4 separate regions of the Homo sapiens genome follow, and regions 2, 3 and 4 are each linked to region 1. The links are contacts of gene promoters, found by promoter capture Hi-C in blood cells and fetal thymus (Javierre and others, 2016). All regions are on one chromosome and are shown on one strand. Each heading gives the region's core, a stretch centred on a gene start or on the middle of the fragment in contact. The rest is flanking DNA. Distances are from core to core; before and after follow the strand shown. Region 1 holds the start of CFAP58-DT (CFAP58 divergent transcript). Region 2 overlaps LOC105378464 (a long non-coding RNA gene). Region 3 holds the start of LOC105378464 (a long non-coding RNA gene). Region 4 has its middle 43 kb from the start of LINC02620.

Region 1 (3,699 bases), core at 719-3,218:
GAGGCCAGAGGGGAAATAGAGAATTGTGAAAGCAGAATCGAGAAAGTTGGCTGAGGTCAAGTAAGAAGAAAAGTAGAAGAAAGGAAGAAACGAGAGGAGTAACAGAAAGAGGGAAATGGAAATAACTAATCCATAATAGTGGAGCAGCTTCTGAGGCCGGCACCTGGGCAGGGTTCCTCACAGAAATATGCAAATATATCCTGAATAGGGCAGAGCCAAGGAAATGAGGGGCTGGTGCCTCTGGGAGGCTGGGGCTTCCCTATGGGGAATGAAGAATGAAATAAACAAAGATGACTGGTGGGAGAAAAGAGGAGAAAACACTCAAAAGCAATAATGGGACAATAAAGAACTAGAAGGAACAAGAAAGGAAATGGGAAGAAAGAGATACAAATGACTATGGGTAATGGGGAGAAGTGAAGTGGCCACAGCAGCATGGATGTCAGAGAGAGATGTGAGTGATGGAGCCCAGGCGTGAGGAAGATGGATGATATGAAAGAGATCGTATGATAAGGAAAGGAAGGAGGTGTTGACCACGGGAAGACGGAATTTATAAAGCTAGACTGGAGATGGAGGAAAAGCAATGATGAGGGGATGTGAATGGTGCAGAGGAAGCAAGAGAGTAACTAGAATGGGGTGGGGAGGGGGTGGAGCACGATGGTGCTGAAAGATGATGGGGCTTGGGCTGGCTTCATGGGAGTGAAAACTGGTCAGTTGCACAGGGCCCCTTGCTCAGAAAGGCCCCATTCTTGGTTGAATGCTCTGCTGTTCTGTCTTAAAATTATTTGTAATTTTTGAAGAGACTTTGTGTTTTCACTTTGCATCAGGCCTTGCAAATCATGTAGCTGGTCCTGGCTGGAACAGACCGTGGGATGGGTGATGGGGGAAGGGCTCTGATGGGGCCATGAAGGATTTGGGTAGGGCCATAGTGGATGGGGACTGTGAATGGCAAGTAATGACAGGGACCCGAGGCTCTTGAGGTTATACGTGAGGGGGCTAAGGGGCAGGCAGGGAGTCACTGAAGGGTTGCAGAAATAACCCCTCATTGGAGAGGCTGAAAATGGGGTGTACTGTAATATGGGGGAGTGGTGGGGTGATACGAGATGTTAACACAGGAGTCAATGAACACACGGGGCAGAGGTGATGGGCAGAAGAGCCTTAATGAAGCTGTGTGACAGCAGGTGATCACATGTTAGGAAATCAGGGTGTGACAGGTGGACAAGGGCCATTGATTGGGATGACAGCAGGCATCTGTGAAGCTTTCTTCCCGGTTTCCCCTGTGAGATAAGACATCTCCAATATTTCTGTGTGAGCCTCTCTTATGGTATCACTCCATGACTAAAAATCTAGGGCTGGGTGCATGTCACGTGTGGATTTCAGAATTCATTAATTTTCTACCGCACTTAGCATAGCGCCGATGCCACAGTGGGGATAGTGGGGTGTCCACACAAATGAAGGAGAAACAGGAGGTAAAGAGGCCAGAGCCAACGGAGAAAGGCGCGGGAGTGAGTGAGGGTGCAGGGGAATAAGATGTTGATGGGGGGAAATATTGGAATCACCGTTTGTGACAATCGTCAGTAGGAGAGGGACAATGGGGAGGGGTCAAGGGAAAGGCGACAGAGGGGCGCTGACTCCTGACCTCAGCCATCCTGATGCTCTCTGGGGGCGGCCTCAGAGGCTGCTGTGGAGATCGCAGGAGCTGGGCCGGAGTCTGGGAAAGAAGCTAAAGGCGCGACGCGCTGTCTCTATCGCCCGCCCCGAGCGGAAACCCGCGCTCGGCGCGTCGGCCCGTCGCCTGGCAACGGACACGCCCTCTAGGGGCGCTAGCGGGAATTCGAAAGGGGAGGAGCTTCTGCGGCTGGCACCTGGGCAGGGTTCCTCAGAGAAATATGCAAATATATCCCAATGGGGCGGAGCCAAGGAAGTGAGGGGGCGGTGCCCCTGAGAGGCTGGGAGGAGTCCCACGGTGTGGGCAGATGGAGACACCCAGGAGAAAGAAGAGGGCGAATTGGAAGAGGCCACCCAGAAAGGACGGTGTGTGACACTAGGGAGCCAAGCATGGAGAGCCGAGGACTAACGCTTGGAAGGAAATGTGGACCAGAAGGTTCCGGATGAGGGAAGGACTGGCGGCTACACTCTGCCTTCCGAGACAACGAGGAATAATCTCACTTCAGTCAGTTCAACCCTTGTAAAACAGCTACTGTGTGCAAGACACGGAGGGAAAGCTGAAGTAGAGAAACCACAGACGCTGTCTTCAAAGGGTTTAATCTAATATTAGTGATGAGAAAAATAGGGTGCAGAGCTTAAGGCATCCTGGAAAAACGTATGTAGCGCCACATCGCGAAAATCTCTCTTCTGGGACCCCTCTCCCAAAAACGTTTCTTCGCCCTCTTCTCCCCCTTCTGCCTCCACTCTTTCTGGACTTCAGGTACAAATAGTTGAAATAATTATACTCCTTGGTTCATGAAATGTGTAAGACTCCTCTCTGGTTTTATTTTCCCCCTTTATCCCCATCCCTACTCCCAACCCCTATCCTCAACCCCATAGGCATTCATGCTGCTGTGCTTCCATATGTATTTTTGGGAAATGTACAAAATTTTTATCAGTGTATTTTTTAAAAATGTTTAAATAATGCTACTGGACTTTGGAGATTATCTTATTTTCTACTTTTTTCACTCAACATTCTTTTTAAGGATCTGTCCTCGTTGCGATTGGCAAGCATATAGTTCATTGCTTCTGAGTACTGCACAGCGTTTCATAAGGGGCATCTACCACACTTCACTTCCATTCCCCAGGTGTTAGGTAACAAGGCCGCCTCTAATTCTCCAATACATCAAGTAATACAGCCATGATCGTCTTTGTCCGTGGTCCCTTAAGGACCTCTGTGCAAATTCCTCTGAAATATATGCCAAGGAGTAAGATTGTTAAAGTTATAGGGATGCACAGGGACATTTGCTTATGCAGCTGCGTCCTGCACAAACACATCCAGCCATGGGGCAATGGAGGCTGAAAAACTGTCTCTACTCTCTTTCCCGTGCCATGTGCCCTACTGGAGAAAGGTGTGCACTTTTTATTCTCACAAAATCTCTGTACGCCAGCCAAGTCATGAACCTAGAAGGCTGTAACTATCTAGAGGGTGTGATATTTTCAAACTCATCTGGCCAGATGAACAGTTTTCCAAGAGCACAACGATGCCCAGTAGCCTAGTACAAGCCCTGGGTACTTACCAAGCACTTTAAGATTGTGTACCAGAGTTACTGCCCTACGCTGCACTCCAGTGTGGGGTTTCCATCCAACACTTCCATCCATCCCTTCCAGAAGGTGATAGGTCTTTTTTATTAAACACTCATAAAGTGTTTAGTAAATACCAGATACTATTCTAAGTGCTTTGCAAATATTGACTCATCTAATTAGCTAATTTTCTAATTTCTGTCAATATGATGAAAGTAGTGTAAGCTCATTTTTTGCTTTCATTTTCACTTCTCTAACTACTAGTGAATTTTTTGACCATTTCTTTATACATTCATAGGCTACTTGAGATTCCCTTCTGTGAACTGCCTTTTCAGTGTCTGTGTCTATTTTTCTATTGATCTTTTTTCTTTTTCTTTTGATTTACAGATATCTTTGAGAAGCCTGGACATCAATCTGCTTTAGAAGACTAGAAACTCTGCCTTTATGTCTTTAAGGGAACAATAGTCCTTA
Region 2 (3,699 bases), core at 742-3,241, 230 kb before region 1:
AAAGTTTTTGGTCTCAAGACCCCTTTACACTCTTGTTTTTTTGAGACATAATCTGGCTGTGTTGCCCAAGCTGGAGTGCAGTGGCGCAATCTCACTGCAACCTCCATCTCCTGGTTTCAAGTGATCCTCCTGCCTCAGCCTCCTGAGTAGCTGGGATTACAGGCACCCACCATCACGACTGGCTAATTTTTGGTTTTTTAGTAGAGACGGTGTTTCACCATGTTGGCCAGGCTAGTTTCAAACTCCTGACCTCAGGTGATCCACCTGCCTTGGCCTCCCAAAGTGCTGGGATCACAGCCATGAGCTACTGTGCCCAGCCCCCTTTACACTCTTAAAAATTAAGAACCTCAAAGAATTTTGTGTGGATTATATCTATTGATATTTACCATATTTGAAATTAAAACCAAAGCATTTAAAAAAGACACTAATTCATTAAAAACAATAAATGTATTGTACCTTAACATAAACGTGTAACATGTTAATATAAATTAGGTGTTTTTTTAAAAAATAACTATATTTTCAAAAATTTAAAAAACTAGTGAATTGAGCGGCATTGTTTTGCTTATTTGCAAATCTCTATATTGGCTGGCTTAATAGAAGTCAATTGGAGTCATATGTCTGCTTCTCCATTCAATCTGTTTTGATTTCACACATTGTGTAGACTTTGGATAACTCCACTGTTCACTCATGACAGAGATTTTAAAAAGACAAGTGTTTTAGCTTTATGATAAAAATAACCCATGTGAGTTTCCAGAACACACTTTAAGAATCACTACTTGAAACCTTCCAAACTAATTTAAAGGACTGACAAGCCTGCTAAAGATCAGGGCTAAGCTTGTTGAGGAGTCAAATGGCCATGGCACTTTACTGCTGATGAGAAAGTGGGAATACCAGCATCAAGCAGAAGCAATCACACCCCATCCCAACCAGTTAGTTCCAGGAGGACAGCGCACCAATTCTGTTTTGTTCACTGCTCTATCCGCAGAGCCTGGAACCCCTGGTAGGCACTCAATAAGTATGTGTCGAACAAATCGTTGAAATAAATGCATCAATGTATATGTGTGTGTGTGTGTGTGTGTGTGTGTGTGTGTGTGCGCGCGCGCGCGCGCGCGCGCGCATATATAAAGATTCTATCAAAAAAAATTTAATAGAAAGATAAAAGGAAAGTACAGAGACCTTGAGTGAAAAACCACATCCTGGAACACCCAGCCTCCAGAATAGCAACCAGACAGGCGGCACCTTCACAGCCATTGCTGTACCTTGCTCATCTGTTACCCTTGCGACCCTCAGCTGCTCCCCCTTTGTTGGGTAAATGATCACAGAGTGAAGAAATGGCTTATTCTTCAAGCACCGCTCCTGTCACTTGTGACTATCAAGTGGTTGTAATCCTCAAAGCTATAGAATTTGTGAAGAGGCCAAGAAATTATCTAGTTATTTCCAATTTCTTTCTTCACCACAGAACCATTATTTCAAATGGAACCCTTACACCACCCACTGCAGGAGAAAGTGAGGTCTTGCCCCAGATGAGGCAGGAAGGGAAGACCAGAGCTGGATGGAATCCGCCTCCTCCTCATCTTCCCCCTCTCCCCACTAGGCTCAGCCCCATCCCAGGAGCCACTAGCAGCCACAGCCCACCCCAGACACATCCAGGAGGCACACATCCGTGGCAGCCCCTGCTTCCAGGTGGGCTAAGGCTCAACCTCCTTCCCATCCCCAGACTCTGTAAGATACCCGTTGTGTCCTTAAACATTTCCTATTTGTTGCTTAAGCCAATTTGAGAAGAGTTTTGTCACTTGCAGCCAAAGTGGCCTTAATCTAGTTACTGGGCTCTCCCAGGTCCCCTAAGCTCAGCACTCACCCAGATGAGCCCTGCTGGGAACCTGTGAGCTGAGGATGGAGGAAAAGACAACAATAACAACCCATGACCTCTAGCTGACCAGCATGTTCCAGCCTATAGGTCAGGGGTCTTTCACACTAGATGAAATCAAAGTTAACCCCCTTACCTTTCTTCCAGCAAATGAGAGATGGAGAGAATTTTTAAAAAGAACACTTTCATTTTTGGCAAGATCTAAATGCAATTATAGCTCAGTAGATCCACGAGAAAATTGACAAGAGCCAATCCTTTGCACAAGGTGTGCTCTGATTTCATGCCGTCAAATTATTTTTTAAAGGGCATTAATATCACAAGCTGATGACTTTTAGCCCTGAGCAAATGATGCATTTTAATGTTTCTTTACACATAGCTCTCAGCCCAAGTGAAGCTGTCTTCGGCAAAGCATTAGCAAACATTTACATTTCAAAACTCAACAGAAGGGTTATTGTTAGATATTTCTTTTCATTTTTTTCATATATGCCCCGACAGATAAATCATATTTCACATGTTAAGTGGTGTGTAGCATTCCGTTTCTAACCCCTGGCAGATCATTAGAAGATAGTGGCACCTACTTTTCAGGCCTAAAATCTAAAGATTGATTTTGAAAGGGAGGAAGAAATACAATGGCATCATCGAACACTGTTACTTTCGTGGCAGGCAGGCTGTTTTTGAAATGATAGTGTGTTTTCAGGTTTCTTTATTCCTCTGCACAAGGGAGGGTGCCAGACATTTGGTGCCTCGTGCTATGTGAGGGTCAGAGCAGGATCATCAGAGCAAACAAAGCCCAGTGGTTAATGTTTTGTTTTCCAGGTGGAGCCTAAGCCAAAATGAGCAAAACTAGGGATGAATGAGGATTAGGATCAATAGGGAGTAGGGGCTCATTTTTCATTTTATAAACTCAAATGGATTCAGAGTTGCAGAAATCAAGGTCTTGAGCATGCAGTCAGGAGCTGCTGCATTGTAAGTCATCTTACAGTACAGTCTAGACTCTGGAGCAAAGTTGTCAAACGTATCCTAGTGTAATGGTTTGAGCATGCAAATTCTGCAGTTGGAAAGGTATGGGTTCAGTGAGACCTTGTAGAAGCCACTGCACCTCTGTAAACTTCCATTTTTCTATCTGTAAAATGGGAATAACATGTTTACCTGTTACTTTGGCTTACTGTTAAAATCCAAGGTGATAATCCATGTGATGCGGTTGGCATGGCCCCTGGCTCATTTTACCTACACAATAAGAACTGTGGGCTCTTGTCATCCTTCCTTTGTAAAAGAAGCTTCCCGTCCAGGCCACTCCACTATCTTCATTGCTTGTGTTTACTTCTCTCCCCAGATCGACTGTGCACCCTCCTGCAAACCTTGCAAGCCCTTCCAAGAAGAATTTGAGCTAATCCTTTGGAGAAGAGAAACAATAATAACAGTTCTAAAACAGGATTGGAGTCATGGGTTGTATAATTCTATACCTTTACTAAAACTCGCTGAATCGTACATGCACAGTGGAGGAATTTTATGGGTATGTGAAGTATATCTCACTAAAAATAAAAGAATAACCGAAAAGGGAAAGTTGCAAAGATTCGAAGAGATTAGTTGATAAAAATTAACAAATGGGTTGAAATCCCCCATTCTTGACTGCTCCTCTCATATCTTTTCTTTTTTTTTTTTTTTTTTTGAGACAGAGTCTCACTCTGTAGCCCAGGCTGGAGTGCAGTGGCACAACCTCAGCTCACTGCAAGCTCCACCTCCCAGGCTAATTTTTTTTTTTTTTAGTAGAAACGGGGTTTCACCGTGTTAGCCAGGATGGTCTCAATCTCCTGACCTCGTGATCCACCCAC
Region 3 (3,699 bases), core at 304-2,803, 210 kb before region 1:
GAATAGAAAAAAAAAGTCCTAAAATGTATATGGAACCACAAAACAGCCTGAATAACCAAAGCAATGTTGAGCACAATAAACAAAGCTGGAGGCATCACACTACCTGATTTCAAAATATACTACAAAGCTATAGTAGTCAAAACAGCATAGTACTAGTGTAAAAACCGACAAATAGATAATTGAAGCAGAATTAGATAATCCAGAAATAAATCCACATATGTATGGTCAATTAATTTTTGACAAAGTTGCCAAGAACACACAGTGGGGAAACGACGGGCCTTTCAATAAGTGGTGTTGTCACAAGAGCATAGCCACATGCAGAAGAATGAAATTAGATCCTATCTTATACCATATATAAAAACTAACTCAAAATGGATTAAGACTTAATCATAAGACTTGAAACTGTAAGACTACTAGATGAAAACATAGAGGTAGAATTTCATGACATCAGCATGGGCAATTATATTTTACACATGACCCTAAAAGCACAGGCAACAAAAGCAAAAATAGACAAGACTACATCAAACTAAAAAGTTTCTGCACAGCTAAGGAAATAATAAACAGAGTGATGAGACAACCCACGAATTGGAAGAATGTATTTGCAAACCATACACCTGATAAGGAATTGATATCCCAAACATATAAAAAACTCAAACAACTCTATAGTAAGAGAACCAGTGACTGATTTTAAAGTGAGCCAAAGGACCTAAATAGACATTTCTCAAAATAAGACATATGAATGGTCAACAGGTATATGAAAAAATGTTCAACTTCAGTAATCATTAGATGTCTCAGTCTGTTCCTACTGCTGTAACAGAATACCTTAGACTGAATAATTTATAAACAACAGAAATGTATGGCTCACAGTTCATAAGACTGGAAAGTCCAAAATCCAGGTGCCAGCAAATTCTGTGTCTGATGAAGACTTGTTCTGTGCTTCAAAAATGGCTGTGTGCTCACATGAAGAAAGGGATAAGGGCGGTCCTTTGATTCTCTTTTATGAGGTCATTAATCCCATTCATGAGGGTGAAGCCCTCATGACTTACTCATTTCCCAAAAAACCCACTTCTTAATACTATCACAGTCGGTTTTAGATTCTAACATATAAATGTTGAGGCACACATGAACATTCAGACCATAGCATCAGCAAAATACAAATTAAAACCACAATGAGATATCACCTCATACCTGTTAGAATGATTATATCAAAAAGATAAAAGATAACAAGTGCTGGCAAGGATGCGGAGAAAAGAAAACCTCTGTATACTGCTGGTAAGAATGTACATTAGTACAGATATTATGGAAAATAGTATGGAGATTCCTCAAAAAATTAAAAATAGAATTACTCTAGAATCCAACCACTCCACCGCCAGGTATATAGCCAAAGGAAATAAAATCAGTATGTTGAAGAGGTATCTGTACTCCTATGTTCACTGCAGCATTATTCACAACAGCCAAGATATGGAATTAACCTACATGTTCATCAAGGGATACATAAAATGTGGTATATATATACATGATGGAATACTATTCAGCCTTTAAAAAGAAAAAAATCCTGTCATTTGTGATGACATGAATGAATCTGGAGGATATTATGTTAAGTGAAATAAGCCAGGCACAGAAAGACAAATACGGCATAATCTCACTTACACGTAGAATATAAAAAAGTTAAACTCATAGAAGCAAAGAGTAGAATGGTAGCTACCAGGTGCTGTGGGGTAGGGATTGAGGAGATGTTGGTCAAAACATACAAAATGTCAGTTAGATGGGAGAAATAAGTTCAAGAGATTTATTGTACAACATGGTGACCATAATGAATAACAATGTACCCTTGAAACTTCCCAAGAGAGTAAATTTTAGGTGTTCTTACCACAAAAAAATAAGTTTGTGTAGTACTGCATACACTAATTAGCTCAATTGAGCCATTCCACCTTGCATACATATTTTTACATGTCATGTTGTACACGATAAATACATATAATTTTTATTTGTCAATTAAAATAAATAGATAAATTTGAATCTTTAAAAAAAGTATCCAAATTGGAAAAGAAGAAGTAAACCTAGTTCTATTCACAGGTGACATTATCTTACATATAAGAAATCTCAGAGAATCCACAAAATAAACTAGTAGAGCTAATAAACCAATTCAACAATTTCGAAGTATAAGATACAAAAATCAGTTGTGCTTTGATACACCAGCAATAAACAATCTGAAAAGTGAATTAAGAAAAACAATTTCATTTACAATAGCATGAAAAGAATAAAATACCTACAAATAAATCTAACCAGGACGAATAACTTGTATGCTGAAAACCACAAAACATTGTTGAAAGACCTAAATAAGTGTTAAGATACCTCATGTTCATGAGCTGGAAAACTTACTATTGTTAAGATGGCAATACTACTCGAAGTGATCTACAAATGCAATCCTTATCGAAATTCTAGCAGCTTTTTTACAGAAATGAAAATGCCAGCCAGGCACAGTAGCTTATTGTATGATTCCATTTATACGAAATATCTAGAATAGGTAAATCCATAGAAACAGAAAGCACATTGGTGGTTGCCAAGGGCTAGGGGAGGGAGGAATAGGGAGTAACTACTTTCTTTACTTTACTTTCATAGGGTATGAGGCAACTGTTTTAGACGTAGGTAGAGGTAGGCGGTGTTTACACAACATTGTGAATGTACTAAATGCCAGTGAATTGTTCACTTTAAATGGTTAATTTTATGTCGTGTGAATTTCATCTCAATTAAAAAGAAAGAATACACCAGAAAAGCCACTTAAAAAAAAAAAAAGAAGTTTGTTAAAAAACAAAGTTACCTGGAAATAGAAATCAAATCTCAATCATCCTTACAGACCCTTGCTCCCATGACCTTTAGCACAGGATGACACATAAAGACAGAAAATGAATAGTGTTTGCCTGGATGGATGAATAACCTACCCAAAATGATCTACAAATGCAATCCTTATCCAAATTCTAACAGCCTTTTTTACAGAAATGAAAATGTCAGCTGGGTATGGTGGCTCACGCCTGTAATCCTGACACTTTGGGAGGCCAAGGCAAGCGGATTGCCTGAGTTCAGGAATTTGAGAACAGCCTGGGCAACATGGTGAAACCCTGTCTCTACTAAAAATACAAAAAAAAAAAAAAAAAAAAAAAATAGCTGGCCATGGTGGCACGCCTGTAGTCCCAGCTACTCGGGAGGCTGAGGCATGAGAATTGCTTGAAACTGGGAGGCAGAGGTTGCAGTGAGCTGAGATCATAACACCACACTCCAGCAGCCTGGGCGACAGAGTGAGACTCCATCTCAAAGAGAAGAAAAAGCCAATCCTCAAACTCATATGAAATTTTCCAGGGTCCTTGAATAGCCAAAACGATATTGAAAAACAAGAGCAAAGTTGGTATACTCACATTTTCCAATTTCAAAACTTGCTACAAAAGTACACTCATCAAAATAGTATGGAACTTGTATAAGGAAAGACATACTTGCCAGTGGAATAGAATTGAGAATCCAGAAATAAACCCATACATCTAAAGAAAAGCTACATATAAATTTGAGGGATTTAGAAATCCTAGAAGATCTTCCTCATCTTTCATTCGCCCCTATTGTTTCTTTAAATGCTTCCTTAGATTTTCTTTTTCCAACTAGAAAAGCAATACTCATTACTTCCTACAAGCCAATAGCAGACAAGTAGAC
Region 4 (3,699 bases), core at 321-2,820, 170 kb before region 1:
CTTGGGAACTGCTGCGGATTAGAAGTGGGTGAGAAGTTTGGCTTGAAGAAGGACCATGCACCCTCTTGCCTGGCCACTATCATGCTCTGGCAAGTCCAGGTCTTGAAGAGAGTGCACTGTGTGAAAACTCTCACGCCACAGGCGAGGATGGAAGCCCAGTTAGGCTCCCTCACCTCTTGTGTCCCATCCCTTATGCCAGCAGTAATCCAGTGAGCTGGCCAGGGAACCCCATGACGGAATGACGGAAAGGGCCAATTTTCCAAAAGGCATCTAAGTCAGACTCTTTGTCTGAAATCCATACACCCTCGCAAGCACACACAGACATTATTTTAGGCTGCAGAGTTACTCACAGAAGTCAGCAACGGGAAAACAACAACAACAACAACAAAAACAACACCATTTGTAACTATAGGGGGAAAAGTGCTGCTTTTCAAAGAAACCCCATTTCATTCTTTCCCTCACAAAAGTCATCATCCTTCAGGTTTTAGCAGCAACAAGCTTGGCTTGTAGGAAAGATTTGGGGGAAAATATTTTTTTCCTTCCTTCAGTCTTCCATTCGAGGAATAAGCAACCACTTCTTCAAGTCACTGATTGTTTCATTCTTTCTAAAATGTCCACCTCAACCCATAAAGACAATGAACATCACAAGGCCTCCTATGTTTTTCAGCCTACATTTTAAGTTAACAATTGTATTAAGCAACAGTTGCTGCATTAACAAACAAACAACCTCCAAATATCAGTGACATCCAATAATATGCATTTATTTGTCACTCACAGGCTTGCGGATTGGCTGGGGCAGGTCTGGTCCATGTGTTTCTCATCCTCCTCCTTAGGTCAGGAGACCTAACAGCACAGAGGGCAAGTCAAGTTCATACACATGTTCTAAGCCTCTACTTGCATGGTGTCTGTGAGCATCCCATTGGCCAAAGCAAGTCCAATGGCCAAACTCAAAGTCAAAGGGCATGGGTAGAGAAAGAAAAACCCATCCTCTGCAGCAAGTGAACTATCCGCTGTTCACCAAGTCCCACACTTGCTGCATTTTCACTATATCCCATGGCAAGGAACCATGGGATACCATGTTGAATTAGATCCAGTCTCCACCCTCAAGGAATTTACAATCCGATAAAGAAAACAAATGGATCCATAAAATGGTGACATTTGAATGTAAAGCAAAGATCATGGGAAGAGGGAAGGGAGTGACATATTTTGTCTATGATAGTCAAGGAATACTTTGCAGGGAGGGGGACAGCTTATGTACAAGAATGATTTTGATAGGTAAAAAAAGAAAGGAATCCTTAGGCCACCAGCCAAGGGCAAGCTATCCAAGATCAGTGATGATGGCTGATGATGGGTTCTTTTATATTGTAACCTGCTTTAATAAAACTGGATAATGACAGTCCAGAGGATGCTGGCTTCTGTGCATGAAAGTGCTGAAGAGGATTTGAGAGGTCACCGAATCCAACCCTATATCAGGATCCCCAAACCCTGTGAGGGCCTGGACACACAAAAATGAATGAGACATAGTTCTCTGCATTCAGATTGGGCAGTCCTTAAAGTACTCAGAATAAATGAGAAATGCTTGCATGTGTGGTGGGGTACACGGCTTGTAATTGTCAGAAATCCACAGGACAGGTAGTAACAGCAAAACCACACAAAGCAAGGACAGTGTTAACGTAGCAGCCTCAAGGACAACAGAAAAGCTGGGAGGCGGCTCAAAGCCAGGATCCATGCTCTGCCCCTTTCCCTGGAGGAGAATCTAAATTCTCTGTCAGTTCAAGTGCCTGGAGTTGAGTTTCTCTTGAAGCTCCCAGGCTCCGAAGGATTCAAAAGAAAACCCTGTTTATCTTCCCAGAACTTGGAAATTAGGGCCAAGATCACCTCTTCAGATCCATTTGTTCTCACTCTCATTGAGGAAACCAAGGCAGCATAGTAGACACTTTTCCCAAGGACATCTGGAAGTTAATGTGGCACGGAAATTCTCAATATGAATTCTAGGGATGGTCATCAGTATCTGTAAACATCCTGAAATGACACATAAAATGTGTTTTCATAAGTGTAATTTCGGAATAAGAAGTCATAGTTTTCATTATATTTATATTCTCAATATGATTATGACCCCTTCCCAAGACATTTAAAAATTTGGTCCACTCATCTCTTCATTTGTTTATTCAGTTTATTCAACAAACACTTCTTAATGCTGACGATTTGGAGACTGGGGAGATGAGACACCTTCCTCTCCTCCACAGTCTTCAGGTAGGACAATCTGTACATCATCTTGCTCTTCCAAGGGGCCTGTTAGACAGGTCAGCAGAACATTAAACCCTTTCAAAATGTGGGCTCATCTGGCCACTCACATTTACTCTGTGTGATTCCAAATCCTCTCCCTTCCACATCACTCCCTCCCTGCTTTTCTCCCTTCCTGCTTTCAACTAATACTTAAGGAGCGCCTGCTTTGTGCCTGGCCCTGGGCTACATCTTGCTTAAATGCTGGAGCCACATTCTGAACTGAGCCAATTCTGACGCAGTTTGTCTTTGTGGCAAAAAAAAAAAAAAAAAAAAAAAAAAAGCCTAAAGTCTTCCTTCTTCCCTTCTCCTCCCCTCTCCCCCCGCCACCCTGCCCTGCCCCATTCAGGGAAAGCTTTGTTTTCTTCTTGAAGGAGCTGTAATGAAGCCTTCCCCTATATTTATGGTTTATGAAAGAACATTAGAGAATTGCCATGGTTACAGGCCCTGTTCTGCCTCCTCTGAGGACCAGAGGGAGCTGGAGAAAAGCACCAAGCGATGGCTCCTGGTGCCACTCAGCCCAGAATCATCATTTAAAAAAAAAATGTTTACATCAGAGGAGAAGTTGCTTCTCAAAAAGCAAAGGGAAAACCCCAGGTTTGATGAGATTGTTACACAGATTCTTGGCTGGGTTGTTTCTCCCTCGCCCCTCTTCTCCCTGCTCCATTATTATTTAAGGTTGTATTAAATCAGGCAAAGGGAGCAGACGACAAAATGCAACTTCGTGTTGGCAGCTCTGGCAAGACGCCCAGGCTCAGAGCTGGCCTCACATCCCGTCCTCTTCAATCTTCAGCAGCAGCAGTGGCAGCAGTGATGGCTGCCAGGATCAGAGTCTCCTGGTCTCATGGCAGATCCTGCTTTCGACCAAGCCCTGAATTGACAAGTTTGACCTGTTCCAGCTCCAGTCCCTGGGGATTGATGGGCTAGTGCGGGGAGCAGGGGGACCATTCTGATTCTGAAACAGAACAGAGCCAGCTAGGACCTGGTGACCAGGGTCTTAACCCAGCCTGCTCCTCACTAGCTGTGTGTTCTTAGGCAGGTCTCTTTGCCTCTCTGAACTGTGATGTCCTTTTCTTTAAAACAAGGGCATAGGTAACCATCCTGAAGGCAAAGAGGTGGAACGCTGTCACTAGGGTCAGGCTGCCTGGGTTCAAATCATGACTCTACTGTTTGCCAGCTGTGTAACCCTGGGCAAGTTGCTTCACCTCTTCATGGCTCAGTTTCCTCACCTGAAAAACAGGAACGATGGCAGAACTCACAGCATGGAGTTGCTAGTGAGGATACTGACAGTCACTCAGAAGCGGACGTGGTCTTGGCAGACGCTCAGTAAATGAGTGCTGTCATCCTTTGGCTACAACATGGTATGAGCGTCTCCGTTCTTTCAGAAAGCCCAGCAATTGGCCAGGCACGGTGGCT

What was found. The method cuts DNA at HindIII sites, captures the fragments that hold promoters and counts their contacts. A CHiCAGO score of 5 or more calls a contact.
Region 2: a fragment that was not itself captured here is called in contact with the fragment with the promoter of CFAP58-DT in region 1 in 4 of 17 cell types (M2 macrophages, neutrophils, M0 macrophages and 1 more); the score reaches 8.7 in M2 macrophages.
Region 3: a fragment that was not itself captured here is called in contact with the fragment with the promoter of CFAP58-DT in region 1 in 2 of 17 cell types (M2 macrophages and M0 macrophages); the score reaches 10.0 in M2 macrophages.
Region 4: a contact is called between a fragment that was not itself captured here and the fragment with the promoter of CFAP58-DT in region 1, in 1 of 17 cell types (neutrophils). The highest score is 5.2, in neutrophils.

Annotation. Positions count from the first base shown.
Region 1 is chr10:104,351,844-104,355,542 of GRCh38, reverse strand. CFAP58-DT (CFAP58 divergent transcript) reads left to right here and starts at 1,968. Exons shown (of 2, transcript NR_108036.1): 1 at 1,968-2,425; 2 at 3,616-3,699. CFAP58 (cilia and flagella associated protein 58) reads right to left here and starts at 1,710. Exons shown (of 18, transcript NM_001008723.2): 1 at 1,637-1,710. The coding sequence starts at 1,645. RefSeq lists enhancers at 1,981-2,040, 3,318-3,427, 3,448-3,497. The HindIII fragment of the contact is 7,343 bases long and covers 1,259-3,699 here.
Region 2 is chr10:104,584,918-104,588,616 of GRCh38, reverse strand. LOC105378464 (a long non-coding RNA gene) reads right to left here. Exons shown (of 8, transcript XR_007062285.1): 2 at 3,017-3,260. Among named protein-coding and RNA genes, the nearest start is that of SORCS3, 55 kb to the left of the region's middle. The HindIII fragment of the contact is 2,310 bases long and covers 837-3,146 here.
Region 3 is chr10:104,564,190-104,567,888 of GRCh38, reverse strand. It overlaps LOC105378464 (a long non-coding RNA gene), which reads right to left and starts at 943. Exons shown (of 8, transcript XR_007062285.1): 1 at 866-943. The HindIII fragment of the contact is 9,974 bases long and covers 1-3,699 here.
Region 4 is chr10:104,521,584-104,525,282 of GRCh38, reverse strand. No RefSeq gene overlaps it. Among named protein-coding and RNA genes, the nearest start is that of LINC02620, 43 kb to the right of the region's middle. The HindIII fragment of the contact is 2,140 bases long and covers 501-2,640 here.